Linked DNA regions of Homo sapiens: all the other regions are linked to region 1. The links are contacts of gene promoters, found by promoter capture Hi-C in blood cells and fetal thymus (Javierre and others, 2016). All regions are on one chromosome and are shown on one strand. Each heading gives the region's core, a stretch centred on a gene start or on the middle of the fragment in contact. The rest is flanking DNA. Distances are from core to core; before and after follow the strand shown.

Region 1 (2,840 bases), core at 152-2,651:
TAGAGTAATTTCCTGATGTTGCCATGGCATTTGTGGCGCCAGTGGGAGTGTAGCAGTGAGGACGACCAGAGGTCAAACTCATTGCCATCTTGGTTTTGTGGGTCTTGACTGGCTTCTTTACTGCAATCTGTTTTATCAGCAACATCCTTATGACCTGTATTTTGTGCTGACCTCATCCTGTGATTTAGATGGCCTGACCCTCGGGAATGCAGCCTAGCAGATCTCAGCCTTATTTTACCCAGCCACTATTCAAGATGGGGTTGCTCTGGTTCAAATGCCTCTTGACAGTCTTTCTTTCCTTTTCTTTTTTCTTTTTCTTTTTTTTTTTTTGAGAGGTAGTTTTGGTTGTCACCCAGGCTGGAGGGCCACAGCATGATCTCGGCTCACTGCAACCTCCGCCTCCCGGGTTCAAGCGATTCTCCTGCCTCAGCCTCCCAAGTAGCTGGGATTACAGGCACCTGCTACCACGCCCGACTAATTTTTGTATTTTTAGTAGAGACGGGATTTCACTATGTTGGCCAGGCTGGTCTGGAACTCGCCCGCCTAGGCCGCCCAAAGTGCTGAGGTACAGGCGAGAGCCACCGCGCCCGGCCCGGCCGACAGTCTTTCTTCTATAATACGATACAAACTAGTAAAGATTTTCTTTTTCCCCTGGCGGAAAAGAGCTGTTAGGCTTCCAGATTTGTTTTTGTGGGTTATTAGACCTCTACTTTTCTTCTTGGTATTTTCCCTCCCTTATCAACTTTGTTTGTTGTCTCAAATAGGCAATGAGGAAGACACAGGTGTTTATTATTATTGGAATGCTCTTTCCATTTGGTCAGTGGTTTCTCAAAGCAGGAGGAATTCAAGTTCTGAGTTTCTAAAGTCAGGACCCGGTGCCGCACCCAACGTGGGCGTGGGGAGTGGCTAAGTCAGGGTCTGAGGGGCAGGGCCGGGGCCTGGCTGCGAGCTGGGGCCGGGGGACTCGGAGGAGCGGGGACCCAGCCCCGCCGCGCCGCCTGCAGCTTTCCCCAGCCTCCTCCCAGCAGAGGGGAGGCCCGACAGGGAGGGGTCCCATCCTCATGAACGGTCACAAACAGGGCGCTAGGGAAGCACGCCCGACCCCCGCGGTCCCCGCGCTCCAGGATTCGGCAGACTGCGCGCGTCCTGCCTCCCGCGGATCGCACTGGGTCCCAACAGGGTTCCCAGCTCCAGGCTGCGCCCATGAACAAGCCCAGCATTGCGGACGGGCGCGCGCAGACGCCAGCGTGGTGAAGACGCGGGGGCGCGCGCGCGGCGACGAGACTGCCAGGGGACGCTTCGCAACACCGAGAGTCTCAGCGTTTCTCGAGATAGGTGAGGCTGCGCGTTCCGGAACTGGTTTCCCGGAAGGAGCATGTCTGCGCCCGCGATCCGACCGGAAGTTGCACGCTGAGCCGCGGACACCATGCAGTCGGATGATGTGAGTCTCCTCCGGTTGTTCTTACACCCGGGGTTTGCGCAGGGAATTTTGCCCATTTTCGGACACTTAGAAAACGCGTACGCAGCGGGTCTGTTGCCTCGTGCCGCTCTGGATGTGAGGCTTCCGGAACCCCGATTTTCCAACATAGGTTCTCACGCGTGTCTAGCAGGGGTTTACTGCCCGCTGCCCCGGCCGGGTTGTGAGCACAGGACTCCGTCACCTCAGCCCATGGGGTCGATGTGTCCCGTCCTTCGTGCCTACCAATGCAGGACGTCGCGTCATGCTGTCAGCTGTCAGCTGTCAGCTCCGGACTTGGGGTGGGGGGCGGCCCGGGATTTGGCGAAGCTGACTCCAAGTTTAAGCGTCCTTCTCATCCATGTGCGCGTTACTCTTCCATCTGCGTTTCCTGTGTAGGCTTTTCTTTACATTTGCTCTACTTCTGCCTAAGTCATAATTTCGGAAGTATCCTAGATTCATTCATTGAGTTTTTTGTTGGAGAAATAACAGTGTGCTTACAGTGTGCCAGGCATTGTGGTAATTATTGAGGATTTGGTTAACCAGAAAAAATGTCCCACCTCTCCTGGAACACTGATGGGGGAGACACAGTAAACAAGTGAACAAATAAGTTAACAATTACACTATATAATCATACTATGAAAGAAAGACCAGAGATGATGAAGGACACTTCAGATAGGGTTACTCAGGGAAGGTTTCTCTGAACAGAAGATGTTTGAGTTGAGATCTAAAAGATAAGAATAAGCCAGTCACTGAGGAGCTGAGGAAAAAGCAATCCAGGCAGTAGGAACAGTAAAGTACAAAGAGTTGAAGATATGAGAGAATGAATATAAGGGTCATCAAAGTGACAATGTAAGACAGGTAATGAAATTAGATATGCTTGCCAGGGCGAGGTCATGCAGAATCTTGTAGGAAGTGTTTTTTAGGCCTTTTAATGATCTATGTTTGTGAAAAGTTGTCTAGTTGCTGTGTGAAGGACTTTTGGAGGGAAAAAATGAAAGCAAGGAGACTAGGGTATGACAAAGGTTGCTTCAAGCCAGACACAGTGGCTCATGCCTGTAATCCCAACGCTTTGGGAGGCTGGGGCTGGAGGATCGCTTGAGGCCAGGAGTTCGATTCCAGCCTAGGCAATAAAGTGAGACTCCATCTCTACAAAAAATAAAAAATTAGCTGGGCGCGGTGGTGTTCGCCTGAGGTCCCAGTTACTTCGAAGGCTGAGGCAGAAGGACTACTTGAGCCGAAAAGTCCGAGGCTGCAGTGAGCTATGATGGCACCACTGCACTCCAGCCTGGGTGACAGAGAGACCCTATCTCTAAAGTAAATAAATTTTTTTAAAAACGAAAGTGGCTTCGCCTAAGGTAGTAATTTAATGGTGGAGATGAAA
Region 2 (2,840 bases), core at 105-2,604, 8.1 Mb after region 1:
TGTCACACAGGCTGGAGTATAGTGCCACAATCTCAGTTCACTGCAACATCTGCCTCCTGGGTTCATGCAATTCTCCTGTCTCAGCCTCCCGAGTAGCTGGGATTACAGGTGCGTGCCATCACCCCCGGCTAAATTTTGTATTTTTAGTAGAGACGGGGTTTCACCATGTTGGCCAGGCTGGTCTCAAACTCCTGGCCTTAAGTGATCTGTCCGCCTCTGCCTCCCAAAGTGCTGGGATTACAGGCGTGAGCTACCCGCGCCCCGCTCCCCCCACCATTTTTTTTTAATTTTCAAAATTTTTGTAGAAGTGGGGGTCTCGTTACGTTGCCCCGGCTAGTCTCAAACTCCTGGCCTCAAGCGATCCTCCTGCTTTGGCCTCCCAAAACGCTGGGATTACTGGCGTGAACTACCATACTCTGCCCTTTATTCTTACAGAGATTTTGAGGTCTAAGAATGTGGACTTTAAAGATTTCATTATCAGATTATGCATTTAGCACGGAATGACAATCTGACAGCCGTGTACAGCGTAAACCGGCGGAGAGGGCTTGGCACTAAAGGCAAACTGTCTTTTAAGAACAGGAAAAAGAAAGGTAATATATATTTTAAGGAGGTCCCATTTTAGGGGAGATAATAAGCTTGGGTTAGGCGTCCGAAGTCAGAAGATATAGTAAGAAACACACACGCAAACTCCAGCAGCCACCAGCTAGACTTGAGTAGAGAGAGCAGGTCCAAGTGGAGGTGGAAGTTGGAAAGTTGCATCTGCCAGGCAGGGCGAAAGTGGCCTACACCCACTCCTGGAGCACCCTGCTTGACGAGCAAGGTAGACGAGGCTGAGGGATACTGCTGGTGATGACGGTGGTCGTGGTGATGGTGCTGGTAGCTAACAGATCTTGAGCGTACCAGGCCCTGAGCTGAGTCCTCTAACGGGCAGAATGTCGCTGCATACGGACAGCAGCCTCAAGAGGACAAGGTGATTTAGTGACTCTAGCCTCTTCCCGCGGTGCCAGCCTGATTTCACCCTCTCCGGAACACACAAGCGAACCTCCGGGGAGGGAGCCAGTATCGGGTCCTAACGCAGGGAAGCGCTCCGCTTTCTGAGAGGGACGCGCCAGCGGAGGGACAGCCAGGGCCCGGCCTCTCCTGCTCCTGCCCCGCCCCGCCCCCGGCAGTGCCCCCTAGTCCGCCAGAGGGCGACTCCGCGGGTCGCCCAACCCGCGACCGGTCCACGCGGCACCCGCCTCTCCCTAGGCCCCCGCCCTGCCGGCCCGCGCGCGCCCGACGGGAGCGTGCGGGGCGGTGGGCGCAGGGTCACGTTGGGCGGCGCAGACAAAGGCGGGCGCGCGCACGTCCTGACGCAGCTTGGGCCCGCGGCGGCGGCAAGGGCGGGAGGGAGCGGTCGCCGCGGGATTTGGAGCTGCCTAGCCTCGCGGTCGGTGAGTAGGAGGGAGCTGGCCCCTTACCTCAAAGTCTCCGACCTCCGGGGAGCCGAGAGCGGGACGTGGGAGCCGGGCTTGGGCGGCCGCGCGGGGCCTGCGGTCTGGGACGCCCCGGCGACGCTGCGCCGGCGTCAGGAGGCACCATCGCCGCGCCCCGGGGATCCCCGGCGGGTGGAGCGGGTGCCCCCCGTCCGGGATGGAACGGTCCGCGCCCGCCCCGAACCCCGGCCGCCCGCCTCTCCGCTCGCCTGCTCTCCGAGCCCGGCTCCTCGGAGCCCCTCGCCTCCCCCAAGTCCCAGGTGTGCGCAGCCCTCCCGCCCCGGGAGTCCGGGGATGTGGGTGGCGAGGGCTGCTGGGCGTTGGAGCACCAGGAAGCGCCTTCCCCTGTCATTCCCCTTCCTGTGTTCTCTGGCTGCCGTAAGATGCATGTCTTTACCCTCTCCTTCTCCAAATGCATGCTCCCATTTTTCTTTAGGATTTCTTAACTCCTGAAATCCCTTGCCTTTCCTTTTTTATTTCAGCACCCTCTGAGGCATCCTTCTCCCAGTGGGGCTTGTTTATTTCCTCGCTTTCCATGTCACAGAGGGCTGAAGTTTAGCTGTTCAGAAGTTGCAGAAAATAGCTTATAGGAGACATACGGTGTAGCACGATGGAAATAAGTTCCATCCTCTGCCAAGTATTACCATGGATCTTCTCATGGATAACCTTGAGGTCATTTGAGGAATTTTGTTTTTGGTTCATTTTCCTTAATTTTGGCTGAACTTTGAGGAGCTCTCCTTAGTTTCATGTCTTGTAGATTCTATCTCAATCCAAGGGAAATGGTGTGAAGAGCAGTTATACCATACCAAAGTCTCCAGACAAAATCCTGTAATAATGCCAATCAAATATACTTCTCTCTTTGAAAGAGATGTGCTTTTCTTTTCTTTTTTAACTTTGTATTTTGGAGAATTTCAGACACAGGGAAATAGATGGAATAGGGAACCAGCATGTACTTGTTCTGGCCTCCTCAGCCACTTAACTGTGGCTATTCCTGTGCCATACACACCCCACCCATTTCCCCTCCCGTATGTCTCAGGGAGAACTTGATGCAAGATGAGTCTGTCAAAAGTAGCTTCAGTTCCATAATGAAAACCACCATACCAAGTCATAAGGTGCTTTTTGTTTTGGAACACAGCCTACTCATGAGGTCTTCAGCTAAGAAACACAGTAGAGTTGAAGAAAGAGCACAGCAAAAGGTATCTTAACATGATAGAACAGGTTAAAAGAAAAAGTATGGCCGGGCGTGGTGACTCACGCCGGTAATCCCAGCACTTTGGGAGGCCGAGGCGGGCGGATCACCTAAAGTCAGGAGTTCAAGACCAGCCTGGCCAACATGGTGAAACCCTGCATATACTAAAAATACAA
Region 3 (2,840 bases), core at 186-2,685, 8.0 Mb after region 1:
AACCTCTGAGTTGGGTAAAGTAAATAATAAATAAGCCTCCTGCTCATACTTTGTCCTGTATTATTCTCTATGTAACATTAAATCCAGCTATGATTGAAACTGCAAAACTTAGAAGTCTATTTCTCCTTAATTCTTTTAACTTAGTCTTCTGATAAAAGCTTATTTTCAGATAATTTCCACTTTTCAAAATTCTCTAAGGACCTAATAAAGCACAAACAATACTTTGTACTCATTTGAGTTCTTGCTACTGAATTTCTCTATGTAAAATCAAAGTTACAAGAACAATATGAAAAAAGGTGCTTGTCACTCATTAGATAAAATGAATCAAGCACGCTTGTAGTCTAACATCACCAGAGACTACTCTGTAGTGCAAACACTAACTGAAACAGGCCAGAGTCATCCCTGTCCTCATGTGTGCTTGCTGGAAGGATAAACATCGATGACTGTAACCATTACACAGTGACCAGCTTTAATGTGCAAGGGTGTCAGTGTGAATGATTTTATTCTACCCCACCCCCAAGAGCTGGAATAAATGGCTTTATGATGGTACTCTCCAGTACTGTACTCAAAACTTGGAAATGTGTAGAGAACGGCAAACATCTGATTAACATCCCATTTGCTGTGGATTGTTGGGAATGTCAAAATGGGGATTGTGGACCACCTACGTGCTAGGATTGTTAGGGGTACAGCAATACATGTATTTTGCTCCAAAATGAGTAGGCACAGAATTACAGAACCAAAATAAAGATCTTGGCTCTTCTGAATTATATCCTAAGTTCTTCCCATATATGTACCTCAAATGCTGCAGATACGAAGTTCTGTGAAATTCTGCCTACAACCAGGAAGCCCTATGGGAACTTAACGCCTACTCTTTACATTTTTAAGCCTCCATTTTGCAAAAAAAAAAAAAAAAAAAAAAAAAGTTTTTATGAGTTAGGCACTACCAAAGATCTTTGGTTAAGGGTTATTGTCAAGTGAAAACAAGTTTATGCTAGCAGGATGTTGTGGGTTTTTAAAAAAATAGTATCTGAGCAATAAAAGGATTTATTGACTTAGTAACTTATCTAACTTTGTGCTGTCACATTTTACTTTGCTAGTGAAATCTTTAATCTTCAGATTTATAAACTATCTTTGAAGAAATATTTCGTTTCACCTACAAAGAGTTCTTTAAAAAAAAAAAGCAGGAGACCTAAAAATCCACCTATTAGCTGCCATATCTGTTGTTCTTGATCTTTCTGTTTCTGTTCATGTATATATCCTCTTACCTCATGTTTTAACAGACCTGTTTATTGCCAGGAAATGATAATAACTTGTATTCAAAATGTTTTGTTAATTACTCTTCACGGAGCAGCCGAGTGTCAAACAACATAGCTAGCTCAGATTCTGGGATGTGCAAGGGCTGAGAAACATAGATGTGATCTTTTCCTCCCAACAAAAGGATTCATGTGCACAACTTGCACATCTTTGTTTATCTCATAAAATCTACAAATGTTTTACTTAGTCCAGTTTCTACTTTCTTAGATATTTGAAGAATTATGCGCTTGAAAATCAACATCTGTGATTCTCGTTTCTAATTTTAAAATGAAGAGTGCTTCAGTTAACAATTAGGGGCCAGGCCAGGTACGGTGGCTCACACCTGTAATCCCAACACTTTGCGAGGCCGAAGTGGGTGGATCATTTGAGGTCAGTAGTTCGAGGCCAGCCTGGCCAACATAGTGAAACCCCATCTCTACTGAAAATACAAAAATTAGCTGGGTGTGTTGGCAAGCACCTGTAATCCCAGCTACCCGGGAGGCTGAGGCAGGAGAATCACTTGAACCCGGGAGGCGGAGGCTGCAGTGAGCCAAGATCACGCCACTGCACTCCAGCCTAGGCAACAGAGCAAGACTCCATCTCAAAACAAAAACAAAAACAAAAAAAAAGTAGGGGCTGGGCTCACACCTATCATCCCAGCACTTTGAGGGGCCAAGGTGGGCAGATTACTTGAGCCCAGAAGTTGAGACCAGCCTGGGCAACAGCAAAACCTTGTCTCTACAAAAAAACACAAAAATTAGTTGGGCATGGTGGCCCACGCCTGTGGTCCCAGCTACTTGCAGGGCTGAGGTGGGAGGATCACTTAAGCCTGAGAGGTCGAGGCTGCAGTGAGCTGAGATCATGCCACTGCACTCCAGCCTGGGTGACAGAATGAGATCCTGTCTCAAAAACAACAACAACAACAACACACACACACACAATTAGGAAAGGCCAAACAGCATGTTTTGGGGGATTTTTAATATTGCAGAAAAGATCTTCCCTTAATATTTAATGACATGGAGGGACTATTTCAGGATAGGAAAAATCACCTTTTAAGTAACCAGAAACCCCACAGCAGCCATCTTGAATACAGAAACTTCACCAGCCCCTGCCAGCAAGAGCTATAAATGTAAAATTATCAGATCCCTGATAGGGGCTCCCTGAGGAAATTTGCTTGTGACAAGTTGTTTTCTATTCCCTAGGAATAGAAAGGGAATAGTTGTTTTCTATTCCCAAGTACTGTGTAGATTTTGAAGTGACCACAAGTTTTCCATAAAGGAAATGTGTGCTGCCAGAGTAATACACAGCTGTATATTAACTCCATGCAGCAGTTAAGACAGCAAGTAAAAATGCCTCTGAGACCAAAGCCAGCATTTAGGCTCAGAGGGTAAAATTCAATCTGATCATTTCGTTTAACAGATAAGCTTGGCCGGGCACGGTGGCTCATGCCTGTAATCCCAGCACTTTGGGAGGCCGAGGCGGGTGGATCACAAGGTCAGGAGTTTGAGACCAGACTGGCCAACATGGTGAAACCCCGTCTCTACTAA
Region 4 (2,840 bases), core at 197-2,696, 6.9 Mb before region 1:
GATTTCCTTTTCTTGGTAGCTGCTAAAGAGAGGTAGCACTTGCTGAGAATATTGTTTTGTAACTGAATTTTGAGTTAACTATTGCCAAAAGAATGTCATTCTTTGAAATGTGTTGCATATTAAAAGGGCAATGTATGGTTCAGCTTGCCAGGTTTAAGCCCATTCTGTATAATACAGGTGCATATTTACTGAACACTCGATGCCAGCATTCCTTCCATCAGCAGCATTTGCAATAACGATGAGTCATAATGTAGCATTTCTGTCACATTCTCAGACTTTATCTGCTGCTTGTCCTTTATTTTTTAGCATAAATATCACCGGTTAAAATATAAGTGCATCAGCAATCTGTAGTGCATTGCATCTTAGAATTTGCTATCTCAGATACTTATTCGTGGGAGTTTACCTTTTTCTTAACAGCCTAGTTAAAATGGCATCAATGGCGTATTTTTTGTAGTCTTTTTGCTATACTTGCTGTGATTTACCTCAAAGATAAATGCAAATATAAAGGACATATTGAATGGAAACCTTGCTATGGTTGAACCCAGTGTATTTGTGTGGTATATCCCGTGACAGCAGACTTTTTGGTCAATTGTGCTTGCTTGACACAGTCTTTCCAAGACATGGCTTTCCTATATGTAGGTGGTTTTTTTTGTTGTTGTTTGTTTGTTTTTAAATTGAGGTTTAGCCAAAAGCCATTTTAAAAAGTACTATCTTCTTTTTTTTTTTTTGAGTTGGAGTCTTGCTGTGTAACCCAGGCTGGGGTGCAGTGACGTGATCTCGGTTCACTACAACCTCCGCCTGCTGCTTCAAGCAATTCTCCTGCCTCAGCCTCCCGAGTAGCTGGGATTACAGGCGCCCACCACCATGCCCAGCCCATTTTTTGTATTTTTTATAGAGATGGGGTTTCACCATGTTGGCCAGGCTGGTCTCAAACTCCTGACCTCAGGTGATCCGCCCATCTTGGCCTCCCAAAGTGCTGGGATTACAGGCATGAGCCACCGTGCCCGGCCCTATCTTCTTTATATGAAATAATTTTCACTGCTTTTTTTTTTTCTTTGGAGTCCAAGGTCTAATTGAAAGAGATGGTTCGTTTATCTAGGATAAGCTGTCCCTGTGTGTTCTGACTCATCAGGTGATGAATAGGTTGCCACATACAGGCTTACCTTTGTCACTGAACCTTTCCAAAATGGGCTTATTTTGAACATCACTTTTGAACAGTGAAAATGTATCCTTAGCTCACATATCTTAGCACCTGTTTCTCATAGGTCAGTTACGCGTTGTGACCTTACTGCCTCTTTGTTTCAGAGCGATCGTCTTCTGATCAAAGGAGGTAAAATTGTTAATGATGACCAGTCGTTCTATGCAGACATATACATGGAAGATGGGTTGATCAAGTAAGTGTAACTCATGATATACAGATGTATTTGAACACTTTCCAGACTTCCCAAGTATTAGATACCATTCGCATCCAAAGTATCAAACTTCAGGAACATCAGAGAGTGACCAACTTAGTATCTGTTTTAAACTGGTTTTGATTGGTGGTAATTAGTGAATTTGAAAACTCAAATTTAGGGAATTCAAAGCAACAATTAATGTACACCCGTTGCATTAGGTATTATGTAATTTACTATTTTTAACTGAGGTGATATGATATCTTTCTGTTGCCAGCTCAAATACTTGGTTTGTGATATGTTGAATATATTAAAGTTTTGCCTAGAATGTCATTGTTTGGGTTGGATTGCCCAAAGGACGCAAACGTGAAAGACAGTCTCCTCTATTGAGACAGCACATCTGCTTTCTTCATCAAGAATCCAAGTTGGAGGGGCCAAAGAAAGATACCAAGTTAATTACTAAGTAATACAGACAAATTACTGCCTAAATCCTGAGGGAATTTTAGGTTTTATTCTAAGTGGCAACTAGTGCAAATAAGACTGCCCTTGTGTTTATTGTGTTAATGTTACAAAGGAGAAGCAACAGGGCAGTTCCTGAGTTTGGGTATTTTTGGACGCCAGAGGGTTAAGGAAGCTGAGTTCATCCCAGTATCTGCCTGCCCTTTCTACTGGGGTAGCTCCCGGGGCTCTGGAGAAATAGCACATCTGTTTGAAGACAAACACTGCAGCCAGTGACAGCTTTTAAATAAGCAGCATTCATCAAGGGATAGCTGTAAACCGGTCCAGAGGAGTGGAAAACTGGAGTGGCTGTGACTGTTGCCTGGGAGCTCACACCCAGATTTATGAACCTAAAATAGATTTTAACATTTCCACGTTTAATGTTTTCTCCATGTGTGTTTGCTGTGACAGTCTCAGCTCCAGGCTCTCAAATGCCATGACTTTGATGTTCCATTTTCCCCCAATTATAAGATGGCACGATCTGGTCTGGTAGAATGACACTGGCCCAGAAGTGTGCAGGCCTGTGTGCTGTTTTTACTCATCACTGATTTGTTCTAGAACTTTATCAACTTCTCCTAGATTAATATTCCTTTTAAAAAATTGGTAGAAAGATATAAAAATATTTTTTAAAAGTTGGAAATGAATCATGTCTCCCAACATAATGAATATTCATTTTTCTGCCTTTTAAAATTATATTTCAGCTGTTAGCTTTTTCATTATCTGAATAACTAAACACACGCTTCCAAAATTTTAAATCATTGCAATCATAGTGTTCACTTTTTTTTTTTTTTTGCTTTGATTTGTTCTACCTCACCCTTCCACCCCTATTTTCCTTCTGGTGAAAAGGATATGATAAAAATAAATGTTTGGAAAGTACGGCCAGGTCTGGAGAAAATTGCTATAGGATAATTAGCTCAATTGCAAGTGCTGTAAAGAAAGTTTAATGACAGT
Region 5 (2,840 bases), core at 105-2,604, 6.2 Mb before region 1:
CCTTCAGAAAAGACCAATCCTAAAATGGCCCTTCTCTGAGATGTCAGCTGATGAGACTAACCAACAATTATATTACTATTGCTAGCAAGCAGTTACTATTAAGCATGTACTAGACACAAGGCACTAAATTATGCACTTTACAAACATTCTATTTAATTCAATTATTTAATTCGAATTCTCCCTATAAGGTTAAGCACTGTGAGTCCCATTATACAGAGGATCAAGTTAGACCCAGAGGAGGTAACCTTCTTGTACATGTCTCCTGGGGACACATGGGAACTCGTTTCTTCATAATATATTCCTGGGGATAAAACTGCTGGGCCACCATATGTGTCTTCACTTTACTGCGTAATGCCAAATTGTTTTCCAAAGCAGTGGTACCAATTTTTACAGCAAGAGCAATGTTAATAGAAAATGTTTATTGACCACTTCAATGTTTATTTTTAAGTACTCAGTAAAGTATTGTCCATTTTTCCATTGCGTTGCCTGCCATTTTCCTAACTGGTTTGTGGGAATTTATTATATATACACAATGTATGTCCTTGATTAGTTAGAGGTGTAATGAATATTTTCTACTTCATCATTTATCTTTCTTAATTGAAATATGGCCAAATTTATTAGTCTTTTCCTTTAGGATTAGTATACTAGTTTTAAGAAACACCTCCCTACACTGAGATCACAAAAACAATCGTATTATTTCCTCAAAGCTTTATAGCTTTGCATTATTATTGTATAGCTCTGTAGTATTTTCTCAAAGCTTTATAGCTTTCCTTTCACATTTAGGTCTGATGTGGATACCTGGAGTTTATTTTTGCACATGGTGTGACCAGGTAGCTCATTGTCTCAGCACCATTATTTAAAAAGACCATTACTGCCCACTGGTCTGCAGAGCCACCTCTGTCTTAAATCAGACACAGATCTGTTTTTTGGTTCTCTCCATCTGTTTCTCTGGCCCATCTGTTTATCCTTGTGCCAACATCACACAGCCATAATTTCTATAGCTGTAAAAAAGAGAGGATTTCTGATAGGTTTCTCTTCAAGAATGTCTTGGCAATTTTTGGCCCTTTGAGGGTCATATAAATTTTAGAATCTGTGAAGTTGCATAAAAATAATCATGTTGAGATTTAGATTAGTACAATATTGTCTCTATAGATCAATTTGGGGAAAACTGAAAGGCTTAAATACTGACTTTACTAATCCACGAACATAATATATCACACCAGTTACTTAATGTTCTTTGATAGCTCTCAACGAAGTATATTTTTCCCTATCAGAGTTTTGCGTATCTTTTATTAATTTCTTCCTAGTTATCTTATTTTTTATATTATTGTAAACATATTTTTAAATTAAAAAAACCCAAAACAGGGTCCCCCTCTGTCACCCAGGCTGCAGTGCAGTAGTAGCACAATCATAGCTCACTGCAGCCTCCTGTGCTCAAGTGATCCTCCCACCACCTCAGCCTCCCAAGTAGCTGGGACTACAAGCATGCACCACCACACCTGGCTAATTTGTTTTAACTTTTTGTAGAGACAGGCTGGACTATGTTGTGCAAGCTGGTCTGAAACTCCTTGGCTCAAACGATCCTCCTGCCTCAGCCTCCCAAAGTGCTGGGATTACAGGTGTAAAACTCCCTGCCTATATTTTATTTTCTATTTGCTAGTGATACATAGAAATACAACTGGTTTTGCATCTTGATTTTGGATTCAGCATTCACCTAAACTTATTAATACTTATGATTTAACTGTAGAATCTTTATTTTCTACACATAGAAATCTCAGTGCAAAAATATGCAACCATATTATCTACACATGCCAGTTTTGCTTCCCTTCTTTCCAAACCTTACATCTTTTATTTATAATTATTGGCTTACTTCATTGACAAGGCTATCCCACACAAAACTGAATAGAGTTGGTCATAATGCGCATTCCTGTCTTTTTCTTGATCTCAATAAGAAAGCTTTCAATGTTTTGCCATTAAATGTGATATTTGCTGTAAGTTTTTTTGCTAGATATACTTAATCAAACTAATGAAATTCCTTCCATTTCTAGTTTCCTGTTTTTTTAAACACAAAAAGATGGTAAATTTTATCAAATGTTTTCTCACTGAGATAATTATATTAAGCAACACAGAATTAGGTTTCGTTTTCTTATCCAGTCAGATCAACATTTTCATTTAACTGGAGTATTTAACACATAATTACCGATATGTTTGCATTTAAATCTGCCACCTTGTTCTGAGCTATTTGTCTTGCTTATTCTATTTTTCTTTTTCTTCCTTTCCTTTTTTAAAATTTACTACACATTTTTTATTCCATTTTCCCCTTCTGTGCATCTAGTGGTTCACCTAGGAAATATGACATGTAAGAAGTGTGAATTTGAATGCATCTAAACAATATTATTTTGTTTGCTTTTGGTATTAATTTTAACCCTAAATATGCTTAGATTACAAATAGAACTACCACTCAAGGGGCCTGCCTGTAGCCCAAGGAGCACATGAATGAGCAGAGATGGGCAGTAGCAGGGGCCCACAACAGATCTGGAGCATCCCCCAGCCCAAGCTCAGGAGAGCAAACAAGCTTCGATGTTAGCATCACATTATAACATTAAGATTTTTTATTTATTTATTTTATATTTTTTACTTTTTTGAGATAGAGTCTCATTCTTCTTGTCCAGGCTAGAGTGCAGTGGCGCAATCTCGGCTCACTGCAACCTCTGTCTCCCAGATTCAAGCAATTCTCTTGCCTCAGCCTCCCAAGTAGCTAGGATTACAAGTGCCTGCCGCCATGCCCAACTAATTTTTGTATTTTTAGTAGAGACAGGGTTTCACCATGTTGGCCAGGC
Region 6 (2,840 bases), core at 161-2,660, 5.7 Mb before region 1:
GTACCCTAGGAGCAACGGTATACTGTACAGCCTACATTTGTGGTAGGCTATACCACAGGTTTAAGTATACTCTACCGTGTTGCTACAACAATGAAACCGCCTAATGGAGCATTTCTCAGAATGTATTCTTGTCATTAAGGGACGCATGGCTACTGGTATTCCCTATATATGTATACCTATGATAAAGTTAATGTATCAGTTCGGTGGAGTAAGAGATTATTGACAATAACTAATAATAAAATAGAACGATTATAACAACGTACTGTAATAAAAGTTAGGTGACTCTGCTCTCTCTCTCTCTCAAAACCTTATTGTACTGTACTCACTCCTTTTCTTCTTGTGATGATGTGACCACGGAAAGCGAAATACAGGACAAGTAGGGACTACTGTAAAGAGATCCTGTCCACGCCCTCAAGGGACTTACACTCTAGCTCAAGCAGACACCATTTAATACCACGTGATAAGTGCAATGCCAAAGGCATACTTGGAACGTTAAGTGGGTCCCAGGAAAGGAATAGCTAAGCAATCTTGGGGTAGGAGCTAGCATCAGGAAAGGCATCTTGGAAAAGATGGGCCAAAACTGTCTTAAGGGAATTAGCTGGGGGTTGATTTTAGGAAAGGGGAATAACAGGAACAGAACGAAACCAAGTCGGGACACTGCATTTCCTGGGAACGAAGGGCACCCTTTCCTTATCTGTCAAAGATAAGTCAGAAGCATTACCATAGGTCACTTCTGAGATCTGGGACATCAACTGCCCGGAGAGTGGCTGGGTGGACATCCCAGGGTCTTTTTATTGTTTTCTGTTGCATCCCAGACCCTACAACCCCTTCCTGAAAGGGTAAGTCGCGCTTCCCTTAAGAAAAAGTTGTTAGCAGGTGTCTCCTTTCTCACAGGGGATAATTACAAGGGTTCAGCCAGAACAAAGGCCGCAGATGGAAGGTGGGAAGAAGACTTGGGATAAGGTGTGTGGAGGAGCCCACAGGCTCTGCCCAATCCCAGGGAGTGACGGGACGTCTTTCCGATTAGGGGACGAGAACTCCCCGATACAAACATAGCAGTGGCATCGCCCCTCCGCGCCCCCCACGCCATGACGAGGGGACGCCGGGGGAAATCCTGCAGCCGTGGGAGGGACGGATGTGCTGGGGGACCGAGAGGCCGCGGGAAGAGGCACTCGCATCCAGAAGGCATTTTAGAGCGAGGGTCAGGCGCAGCGGCGGACTGCGGGTCCCGGCTTCGGAGCCCGCTGTCCAGCAGGGTCCAGGAGGACGTGGCGCCCACTCACCGCTGCTGCTGGTGAAGTAGAACACCATGATCCCGGGAGCGGTGCGGTGACTCCACCGCGGAGCAGCAGCGCTCAACTCACGAAGCTCAGGATACCAGACTCGCGGCGGCCGCCTGGCCCCCGGAACTCCTCCGTGCACTTCCGGCGGACGTCGGGGCGCGTCATAACGCCGGCCGTGGGCGCCATTTTTAATCCTGGCGAGGCGAAGTGTAGTGGCAAGGAGTTTGGTTCAGTGATTTGTGGGTTAAGGGAAAGAGGCTGGGCATCTTGGGCACGTTAGTTAACCTGTCTGTGCTTCACTTTCCTCAGCAGCGAAATGAAGATGATACTAGAGCAGCTAACTCACAGGATATTTTTTAGGGTTAAATAAGTTAATGGGCGCCAAGGGTTTAGAACATAGCACACAAACGAGTTGTTTCTGATACTCACCAGGACAATATGCCTCTTGGGGATTGGACTTTGTTCTGGCTTAAATCGAAGGCCTGCCATCCCAAACCTCTGAACCTCAGAGGTCCTCCTGCTATAAAGTAGGAATAATCATATTCATGTAAAGCTCCTACAGCACTTGGCTTTGCCCTGATTATTTCTCTTGAGAAAGCACTTTTATCTGAGGAATGTGAGTCCCTTTAAATTACTAGGTCTGGAGAGGCATTAAGATAAGACCCCATCATGTTCTACCACCCCCTTGAGCTATGTATTCATCTACTGAAACTACCTGCTTCTGCCACAGGTAGCTACCTACTAACCTAACACTGCCACACAAGACACTATGACATGACCCACACCCTATAGTTTAACAATGTCTAGCCAATCACTGATGCTTGTAGTTTCTATACATCAATGAGAATGCTTGACAGTTGTGTATCAGCCCACTTCCTGCCCCCCTTCTTCGTCTTTAAAAACCTGCTTGTAGCAAAGGCCAGACAGAGCTCATATCCAAGCCTGCTGGTGGAGGGCGGTGGGGGGAGGGGGGTTGGAATCTTCTGGGCAGCTGTCCCCGCTTTAACTCAAGCAAACTCTACATTCTTTTTTTTTTTGCCTCAGCCTTTTCCTTTTAAACTGACACTCTTACATCACTGTCACTGACTTCATTCTATGAAATTGAGGGCGTCACTTAACGAAATTTATTTACATGCTTGCTTTGACAGCATGTATACTAAAATTGGAATGATACAGAGAACTTTAACATGGCCCCTGCTCAAGGATGACATACAAATTTGTGAAAATTAAATTTGAAAAAATAAACATAAAACTCTAAACTTATTTGAAACTAAAAATGTGCCAGAAACACTGTACCAGGAGCTGGTGACACAAAGATAGTAACAATAGCTAACAATAACCGTTTTAGGAACTTTCTGGTTTTCCAAAGTAAGAATTTAGCTCTGTTCTGTAAATAGCAATTGTTTTGGGTTCTCCGTTGTATTATTTGTAAAATGGGAATGGCAATAGATATTAATGCCTTACAGATTGTGGTAAGAAGTAAATGAAACAAAACATGTAAAGCATCTAAGAATGCCTGGCACATAGCAGGTGTTAAGTTTTATATTTTAATTTGAA
Region 7 (2,840 bases), core at 100-2,599, 5.7 Mb before region 1:
ACACGCCTGTAATCCCAGCTATTCAGGAGGCTGAGGCAGGAGAAGCGCTTGAACCTGGGAGGTCGTGCCACTGCACTCCAGCCTGGTCAACAGAGTGAGACTCTGTTTCAAAAAAATATATGAATAATAAAAAAGTAATTTAAAAAAACACTTTGTTGACAGCTATATTGGCACCATACTTGTTCGATTATTTCATTTTTCTTAACACAATATTCCTACTTTAAAATCATGTATTTACCCTTCTTAATAACAATGCCATAAGAAATGAAAATCTTTTACTTCTTTTAGAAGAGCATATCTTAGGAGGGCAACGCTGCAGAAAAGACAGCAGTCACTGACATCACCCAATACTGGCTTCCTCTTTGAGGTTTTCTCATGAAGAATCTGGTTTAATTACCACAAAGGAACCCTTTCCCCTGCCACTTCCCCTTCTTATGGAAGCCAAGGAAAAATTAAAAAGTAAATGACTTCCCCTTTAATAACCCATCAGGAGGAAGCTAGGAGAAAAGCAGAGGCAGAGCTACAGGCAAAGTTACAAAAGGGTCTAGGGACCGGAATACAGCCATCAGCCAGGATCAGGAGCAGACAACCGAATCTAAATACTGGAATTTTCAGACTACTTCTTTGTCTCCAAGTACAGTAGAATTATAGTTGCATGAAAAAAGGTTAATCTGAAATCTTATACTTACCTTTTCATTAGGTACACATTTACCCCAGTACCAAAGCCAAGCTTCTGCATAAACGGAGAGGCCGGGATATTTATAGTTGGAGTTGAACATAATACTAAATGTCAGAGAAATAAAAAATAAAATTAATAAAAAATAAAAATAAAGCATCTTAACATTCTCAATATACTACTGCCAAGAGTATTAATTGGCACAGTCTTTTTGGAGAGCAATTTGACAACATATATCCTAATTTTAAATGGGTATCTTTTGACCAAGCCTACTTTTGGAGTTTTATCCTACAGTAACTCTGAAGCAGAGATTGGGAAATGGCCTGTTTTTGTATGGCCTACAAGCTAAGAACTGTTTTCACATTTTTAAAACATTGTTAAAAGATAAAGGGGTTGGATGTGGTGGCTCATGCCTATAATCTCAACGCTTTTGGAGTCCGGGGCAGGAGGGTCACTTGAGCCCAGTAGAGACCAGCTTGGGCAACATAAAGAGACTCCATCTCTACACACGAAAAAATTTTTTTAATTAGCCAGGAATGATGGCACACACCTGTGGTCTCAGCTACTTGGGAGAAACACTTGAGCCCAGGAGGTTAAGGGTGCAGGTGCAGTGAGCTGTGTTCAGCCTGGGTGACAGAGCAAGACACAGTCTCAAAAAAAAAAAAAAAAAAAAAAAAAGATGAAAAGATGGAGTTCTGCTTCTGCTCATGAAAAATAATTAACTACTCCTGGACAATTAACTGCTCCTAGAGTTACCATCTCGCCATTAACTAGAAAACTAGACAAAATATAATTGTTTTCAGACACTTGACAACAGGCAGAGCAGTGTTGTGATGCCTGAGAGAAGAGAAACAAATGAGGTGGGCCCTATCACTGCCCTAACTTACTGCTTGAAGGCAGTTTCCAGACTGCAGGACAGAGGTCACATAATCCAGAAGTCCTGTCACATTGAAGAGACAGAGATCAGAGGTCAAGAAGGACTAGGCGGCTAGAATTTGTGGAGCAGAGAACTAGAGAGCTCCAAAGAGAGCACTCCAAAGATCTGAACAGTTTCTCTTTGAGTGTTTGGCCAAGTACTTATCCGCACATAACAATGTGTAGATGCCCCAAAGCTGGGAAAGCACCAGAGGAAAGCAATTGGCTCAACAATTACCAGAGATCATACAAGTCTAGGAACACTTCATATCACCATGAGCTAGAGGATGGTAACCCTGTAACACATAGTAAAGTCCTCTAAAGGGTCACAACTAGATAGTACAGCTAAAGTTTAGCCCCAGATAAACATTCAAAACAAAGCTTAAAAGCCAGTCTCAAAAGGAACAGGCTAATGTGCAGGTAACTTAACCTCAGACCATAACTAAATCAAACACTCTTTAAAGGAATAACAAAATCCAGTACTAGACAATGCAAAATATCTACTGCCCAATCAAAAAGTACCAGGCATGAAAGCAGCAAGAAAATATGACCAATATAGGAGAAAAATAAATCAATAGAGGCCTAGCGCGGTGGCTCACGCCTGTAATCCCAGCACTTTGGGAGGCCGAGGCAGGCAGATCACTAGGTCAGGAGTTCGAGACCAGCCTGGCCAACATGGTGAAACCCCGTCTCTACTAAAGAGGCAAAAAATTAGCCAGGTGTGGTGGCACGTGCCTGTAATCCCAGCTACTCGGGAGGCTGAGGCAGGAGAATGGCGTGAACCCAGGAGGCGGAGGTTACAGTGAGCTGAGATAGCGCCATTGCACTCCAGCCTGGGCGACAGGGCACAAGACTCCATCTCAAAAAATTAAAAAATCAATCAATCAATAGAAACATACCATAAGATGACAGGAGGCCAAGAGTGGTGGCTCACGCCTGTAATCCCAGCACTTTGGGAGGCTGAGGCAGGTGGATCACTTGAGGCCAGGAGTTCAAGACCAGCCTGGCCAACATGGCGAAACCCTGTCTCTACTAAAAATACAAAAATTAGCTGGGCGTGGTAGCACGTGCCTGTAATCCCGACTACTCGGGAGGCTGAGGCAGGATAATTGCTTGAACCCAGGAGGTGGAGGTTGCAGTGAGCTGAGATCGCACCATTGCACTCCGGCCTGGGTGACAGAGCAAGATTCTGTCTCAAGAAAAAAAAAAAAAAAAAAAATGACAGGAATGGCAAAATTAGCAGATAAGA

The links. Contacts are between HindIII fragments. The CHiCAGO score rates a contact against its expected background, and 5 or more counts as called.
Region 2: a contact is called between the fragment with the promoter of GPAT4 here and the fragment with the promoter of MAK16 in region 1, in 1 of 17 cell types (fetal thymus). The highest score is 7.9, in fetal thymus.
Region 3: a contact is called between a fragment that was not itself captured here and the fragment with the promoter of MAK16 in region 1, in 1 of 17 cell types (total CD8 T cells). The highest score is 6.5, in total CD8 T cells.
Region 4: a fragment that was not itself captured here is called in contact with the fragment with the promoter of MAK16 in region 1 in 2 of 17 cell types (M0 macrophages and activated CD4 T cells); the score reaches 7.4 in M0 macrophages.
Region 5: a contact is called between a fragment that was not itself captured here and the fragment with the promoter of MAK16 in region 1, in 1 of 17 cell types (M0 macrophages). The highest score is 7.1, in M0 macrophages.
Region 6: the fragment with the promoter of CCDC25 here is called in contact with the fragment with the promoter of MAK16 in region 1 in 7 of 17 cell types (naive CD4 T cells, total CD4 T cells, activated CD4 T cells and 4 more); the score reaches 19.9 in naive CD4 T cells.
Region 7: a contact is called between a fragment that was not itself captured here and the fragment with the promoter of MAK16 in region 1, in 1 of 17 cell types (monocytes). The highest score is 5.4, in monocytes.

The regions. Positions count from the first base shown.
Region 1 is chr8:33,483,781-33,486,620 of GRCh38, forward strand. MAK16 (MAK16 homolog) reads left to right here and starts at 1,402. Exons shown (of 10, transcript NM_032509.4): 1 at 1,402-1,441. The coding sequence starts at 1,427. RefSeq lists enhancers at 558-1,194, 1,182-1,331 and silencers at 822-1,011, 1,222-1,409. The HindIII fragment of the contact is 3,746 bases long and covers 1-2,840 here.
Region 2 is chr8:41,576,846-41,579,685 of GRCh38, forward strand. GPAT4 (glycerol-3-phosphate acyltransferase 4) reads left to right here and starts at 1,355. Exons shown (of 13, transcript NM_178819.4): 1 at 1,355-1,433. GPAT4-AS1 (GPAT4 and GINS4 antisense RNA 1) reads right to left here and starts at 1,523. Exons shown (of 3, transcript NR_125824.1): 1 at 1,461-1,523. RefSeq lists silencers at 1,082-1,701, 1,722-1,861. The HindIII fragment of the contact is 4,489 bases long and covers 634-2,840 here.
Region 3 is chr8:41,514,144-41,516,983 of GRCh38, forward strand. No RefSeq gene overlaps it. Among named protein-coding and RNA genes, the nearest start is that of GINS4, 14 kb to the right of the region's middle. The HindIII fragment of the contact is 2,559 bases long and covers 157-2,715 here.
Region 4 is chr8:26,580,664-26,583,503 of GRCh38, forward strand. It overlaps DPYSL2 (dihydropyrimidinase like 2), which reads left to right. Exons shown (of 14, transcript NM_001197293.3): 2 at 1,306-1,394. Among named protein-coding and RNA genes, the nearest start is that of DPYSL2, 68 kb to the left of the region's middle. The HindIII fragment of the contact is 3,760 bases long and covers 1-2,840 here.
Region 5 is chr8:27,301,067-27,303,906 of GRCh38, forward strand. The region is part of intron 1 of TRIM35 (tripartite motif containing 35); the gene reads right to left. Among named protein-coding and RNA genes, the nearest start is that of TRIM35, 8.8 kb to the right of the region's middle. The HindIII fragment of the contact is 1,199 bases long and covers 756-1,954 here.
Region 6 is chr8:27,771,230-27,774,069 of GRCh38, forward strand. It overlaps CCDC25 (coiled-coil domain containing 25), which reads right to left and starts at 1,411. Exons shown (of 9, transcript NM_018246.3): 1 at 1,284-1,411. The coding sequence starts at 1,311. It also overlaps a transcript of ESCO2 not described here and the pseudogene RNU6-1276P. RefSeq lists an enhancer at 1,095-1,404. The HindIII fragment of the contact is 7,740 bases long and covers 1-2,840 here.
Region 7 is chr8:27,827,416-27,830,255 of GRCh38, forward strand. PBK (PDZ binding kinase) reads right to left here. Exons shown (of 8, transcript NM_018492.4): 3 at 690-783. Among named protein-coding and RNA genes, the nearest start is that of PBK, 9.0 kb to the right of the region's middle. RefSeq lists a silencer at 523-723. The HindIII fragment of the contact is 1,242 bases long and covers 729-1,970 here.